Linked DNA regions of Homo sapiens: region 1 is linked to region 2. Evidence: promoter capture Hi-C in 16 types of primary human blood cells and fetal thymus (Javierre and others, 2016). All regions are on one chromosome and are shown on one strand. The core of a region is centred on a gene start or on the middle of the fragment in contact, and the rest is flanking DNA. Distances in the headings are between cores, read along the strand shown.

What was found. The method cuts DNA at HindIII sites, captures the fragments that hold promoters and counts their contacts. A CHiCAGO score of 5 or more calls a contact.
Region 1: a fragment that was not itself captured here is called in contact with the fragment with the promoter of SPATA46 in region 2 in 1 of 17 cell types (M0 macrophages); the score reaches 5.4 in M0 macrophages.

What each region holds. Positions count from the first base shown.
Region 1 is chr1:161,859,147-161,862,108 of GRCh38, reverse strand. It overlaps ATF6 (activating transcription factor 6), which reads right to left. Exons shown (of 16, transcript NM_007348.4): 13 at 1,832-1,902. Among named protein-coding and RNA genes, the nearest start is that of ATF6, 94 kb to the right of the region's middle. The HindIII fragment of the contact is 4,155 bases long and covers 1-2,962 here.
Region 2 is chr1:162,375,538-162,378,442 of GRCh38, reverse strand. SPATA46 (spermatogenesis associated 46) reads left to right here and starts at 1,589. Exons shown (of 3, transcript NM_182581.4): 1 at 1,589-1,755. The coding sequence starts at 1,653. The HindIII fragment of the contact is 3,530 bases long and covers 1-1,805 here.

The DNA.
Region 1 (2,962 bases), core at 176-2,675, 520 kb after region 2:
CAGGGTTAGGTTCCTGCAAGCCTCTGGTTACAATATTTCTGTTAAGTGATAAATATATAACCTTATTTATGTGTTTCTGTTTAGAGATACCTTCTTTAACATATATTATTCATTCACTAACTTGAACTCACAGCCAACTGCACTATAAATCATGCCTGAATGAAACTTATCTAACATACGTAGTTTCTCCACACAGCACATCACAGCCCGCTTCGGCTTAGCAACACTAGACAGCAATTCAGCAATATGCCTCGGGGCCATTTCAAACAGCAAAATTACCAACAAAAAGCACAAAAATATGAAAAATGTGGACTGTGAAAAGGACCTTGTTTATATAGCTGAGACTAAAAGGCAGAACACTGCCTTGTTCAACCTCACCAGGGAGCATCTACGCATGTTTGCAAATGATGACAAAAGCACTGCTAATATTAGGGGTTACAAATACATTTTAGCAGATTTTAGTAGGTGAATTAGCAAATATGGAATCCACAAATAATGAAAATTGGCTGTAATTCACTAAAACATTTTAACTAATGAAGAAATACCATGCCATTATAACCATGCATCCAAAAATTGATATATTTTTAAAATAAATGTAATTGAATGATATATTCTGGTTAGCAGAGAATGATTAGTTATTATTTAAACATATTTGAATTATCAATTTCAACAGGATAATACAATCTCAGGATTTTAAACATTCATGATTGCTGATATGCTGCTCATTGTCATTTAATAGGAATTCTCAGTTATTAGTATAATGAATAAAATAGCTTTTGACTTCATTTTTACTATCTATCTATCTATCTATATTTTTTTCTCAGTGCCTAGAACACTGGCACACAGTATATTCTAAGTAAATGTTAAATTCATATAAGTGAACTGCAAATGTGTGGTAGAGCTACAGATAGAAGCTGAGATCCTCAAATTTCACTTCAGTGATACTGTTGTCAATGACATCACATCATTATCATTTACCATTTTGGGGGGCACTTATGTACCATGCTAAGTGCTCTAAATATATTATCTAATTTAACCATTATATCAACTCTGTGCAGCCAGCATTTTGTAGATGAGAAAACTTCAATTGCATGTAATCTGCTTGAGCCCACAAAGTAAGAGGTAGAGTTATAATTTGAACTCTGCCCAACAGGGCAAATAAAGCTAGCATCTTAACCATGACACCATATTGCTTCCCATATTATATTTCCCTTTGAAGACATTTAAACCTGTAGATACAGCATTCTCTTTGAAATCTTTCAAAATCTTAAGTATTATTGTGTAGTGAAAAATGCATTGTAAGTAAAACAGCTATGATCTGAATTCTGAGTCTACCACTAGGTCTTATGACTCTGAAAATTACAAAAAAAATAAATGATTTGACCAGTTTTTCTATATATAAAATAAACTTTTAGTTATTACATGGATTTAAAGATAAAATACATGTAAAACACTCAGCAGGACACCTGGTACAGAGCACTCAAAAAATAACATTCCCTTCCCTAGGTTCATGAAACAGATGCAAATCAAGGGCAAGAAAGCTATGGGTATTCAAGATTTTCATCAAAATTATGATGGAACAGCATTCTGACTAAATTTGTATTTAAGGGATTTGGGAGAGTTGAACTTTTGAAATTATCTGGCTTTATTCCAACTGCTCAGTAGTATGTTATATATATATATACATATATATATATATCTTAGAGTATATGACTAATATAAAACTCATAGATGAGAACAAATTTAAGGTGAAAGGGAAGTGTGAATTTCAACTTTCTTAAAATACCAGCTATTTTAAATTCCTTGGCCAAGAGCTTCTGCACTGTCTTACCTGATACTACTAGTGGTTTCTGTGTATTGAACAGCCATCAGCTGAGAATTTGAGCCCTGTTCCAGAGCACCCTGGAATATTAAAAAAAAAAAAAGTTTAATACTGTATCACAAAATTATATGAAATCTTCCTATACTGGTTCATTCTATACTTAAATTTGTTAAACTTCCATTGCTAAGATTTCTGACATATTCAGTTCAAATAATTAAACACTGACAGATATTAGAACTCTTTAGGTCCATTCTAGTCTGGGAGAAGTGTCTTATGGAGATTAAGGCATTTAAGGCACTTTCCATTAAGTTTAAAGAAAGAGCCCAAAAGCTAGTCCAAGCACCACAAATTTTATGACCAAGCTATATAAGTGTTACTGAACATATAACAATGTCTGCTTGTCTAAAATAATTATCTTCCCAATGACAAGTTCCTAAGAAGTATGAAAAGTCCATAATGAAACTAGATCCTATTGTTTACTGAGTTAAACACAGAGATCTTCATGCCAAAATACATCTATGAACTAAGCCATCATTAAAGAGTTCTTATTGATGACTCTTGGCAAGAGAACAGTTCAATCTACACCCATTAGTGGCCCACATATGCTACACTGGAAACCTGTCTTTCACACAGCATTTGCTTTGCACTATGCCTTTTTATTCTCCCTGGTAGTTATGTAAGCTGATTTTCAGAAGCGGTTTGTCAGGGTATCAGACTTCAAGGGCATATTACCAAGTTCTATTTCATTAGAAAGTAATCTTACCCTGTCAAACAATGGTTTAAATAATTTTTTAATCATTTGTTCATTACTGTGTCCATATATCCATCTTTCAGTAATCAAAGCACCTACATGTGCCCAAGCTACAAAATTAAATATTTGACTTCTGCCTTTAAGAAGCTCGCAGTTTAACTGGGAAGACAGATATAGGAAAACAATACAATGCGATAAGCGCTAAAACAGAAGCATGTACAGAAGTTTAAGGGAGAAAAGAAAAGGAAACAATTTTGTTTGGTGGATGGAACCAATATGCAGAGATGAATATAGGGGTTCCCACTTCTGGCTCTGTAACAAGTCAAGGATCTCATTTTATAAAAATCTAATGTGGGTCTTGTATATTGTAGGTGTTCAATAAATGCTCT
Region 2 (2,905 bases), core at 340-2,839:
CCAGACTCATGAGCTTTCTCTACACCATAATGGACCAAATGAAATTGCTGATACCCCCCAAACTGCCAAAGTATGTGGCTTCAACTTACTTTCCAATACATGCTAATGTTCCAAACCAGGCTATCTGGGAGGAACACGAGGGGAATCATGTTCTCCCATTGTCCTTCGAATGTTTCAGTACCGTGAATAAATACACACAGGAAGACAACTCTGGGCTCTCACGTGCAGAAGCTAACTCACACCTCACTCACACATGCTCGACAGCACTGCAAAACAAGCCCATCACTATTTCCAGAGCGGCCATAGCTCCCCATGCAGCATAAACATACCTGCCATCTAGATCTGCAGCCCTGCTCTGTATCTAGTTGACATGTTGTGATAATCTAGAAAGGGGTGTCTTCAGCTTATCTTCCAAGTGTCACAATCATCTTTCACCTTATTCCACACCTCGTTAGTGCACAAGGTTGTTATAGGACAAGCGAAACGAAGAGGCAACCTTGCCTCTCTGGAGTCCCAGAGTCTCCCCATCAAACTGACTTAAGCAATGAGCAAAATAGTATTGAGTAAGCCACCCATTTGTGCTTTAGTCACTTGCTAAAAAGAGCACCAACCACTGAAAACAATATTTGGCCCCTATTCTTAGGAAATACACATTGAAGTACTTAGGTATAAAAGGACATAGTGTTTATAACTTACCTTCAAATAGTTCACAGAAAAAATTAAGTATATACACATACACATGGGGCAGGGGGCAGGAGGAAGGGGACGGATACAGCAAATGGGGTAAAATGTTAATAGGAAAATCTGGATACAGGGCATAAGGGTGTTCTTTGTATTGATTTTATTTTTTGCAGCTTTTAAGATGGAGTCTCGCTCTGTCACCCAGGCTGCAGTGCAGTGGCGCTATCTCAGCTCACTGCAGCCTCTGTCTCCCAGGTTCAAGCGACTCTCCTGCTTCAGCCTCCCAAGTAGCTGGGATTACAGGCACCCACCACCACGCATGGCTAAATTTTATATTTTGAATAGAGATGGGGTTTCACCATGTTTGTCTAGCTGGTCTTGAACTCCTGACCTCAAATGATCCACCCGCCTTGGCCTCCCAAAGTGCTGGGATTATAGGCCTGAGCCACTGCACCCAGCCTAATTTCTGCAACTTTTACAAATTTGAATTTCCAAAGAAAATGTGAAAAATATATACACCTCAAAAAACAAACTAAAACAAAACAATAAAAATATTTGCTGACAGAGATTAGGCTGATAAAGGAGAAGAAAAGGAAGGAGATTATTCAGACAGGACAGAGGTTTCCAGGGCTGGAGGGCTGGGGGTAGACAGTGTCAACACAGAAAACTGATGATAACAAAGATAAAAGGGGACAAATAGACAGCATCACTACAGTATCTCTACTACATTCTTCTCTCTGGGTATTGTCAATCAGGGCCTGCCACTGGGCAATGGCAAGTCAAATACAATCTTTACACATTTTAATCTTGCTTTCAGTAGACTCCATTCATCTTCCAAAGGGTAACCTAGTTGGTAGTGGAATCATGTGCCTTGTGACATCAACTGTGCTCAGAATGTTTATCCTCTGGACAAACCAGCCAGCCTCTCCAGAGCAGGCGTGTGATCTCTGTACCCCCGCAGTGGTCAGAATATGGAGAACTTCTCACTCCTCAGCATCTCTGGACCTCCAATCTCTTCCTCCGCCCTGAGTGCTTTTCCCGACATTATGTTCTCTCGTGCCACCAGCCTGCCAGGTAAACTTTGGTGCCACTAGGGCCACAAAGATGTGGTTTTTTTTGAAGCTTTTAATTGAGTACCCTACCAGATCATGTTACAGGACCATGATTTAGTGAGAAAGTCAAATTACGCATGGGGAGAAAATAATTTTTCAAAATGCTGCATTTGTGGTAAGTAGTTACTGCTGTGTATTGATTTTTGGTAAGGGAAGAAAGGGGAAAACTTTTTTTTTTTTTTTGAGACAGAGTTTCACTCCTGTCGCTCAGGCTGGAGTGCAATGATGTGATCTCGGCTCACTGCAACCTCTGCCTCCTGGGTTCAAGTGATTCTCCTGCCTCAGTCTCCATTTATCATCAAGTTTTTCCCCCTAGATTGTGCATGAAATCTCAAGGTGGCAGTATGTCTACATAGAGTAGAAACTAGTTTTAGCTCTGTTTTGACAAGTTTGGAGAGGATTTGGAGTTAGCCAAATCAGAGAAGCCTAAGCAGCAGCGTAAACTGATGAGCACATCATGGAATAAAGTTGGACACCCTGAGGACTCCCTGTTCAAAATACGGTCCTTAGACTTGCAACGTCTGCATCGTCTGGGAGCTTGTTAGAAATGCAGAATCTCAGGTTCCCACCCCAGATCCACTGAATCAGCATCTGTGTTATTAACAAGATCCCTAGGGGATCTCTATGCACAGTAAAATGGAGAAGTACTGCTCAGTGGAGTAGGCCTCCTAAGCATCCATTTGTCTACATATATGACATTTATAAATTTGTCCCCCAAACTGAACACAGCTGCTATTCTGGGATTTGAGGCAGGTCAGCTTTTTGTCCAAGTGTTAGCACTCCAGGGTGTGCCGTGCAGTGATGGCCCACGGGAACCCTGACTGTGGGTATGAGATGTTTCAACTGGACAATCCTCAAAGCGGGCATGGAACATTGCTCTGCAGCCTGTGACTCTGGGTCCCAGGATGCTCAGGAGACTGGCAATGCGGAGTGAAGCCATCCGCGTGATGAGATGCAGGAGGGTTAGGTGAGGGGCAGGCCAGGCGGAGAGGTGTCATCTGGGCTACATCATAAATCCCACTTTCCAGAGGATCTTTCTGAGGCCTGAATGAAATGGCCCCATTCAGAATTCCCCAGGATGTCATCCAGAATAGCTCTGCCTGGCTGAGTTT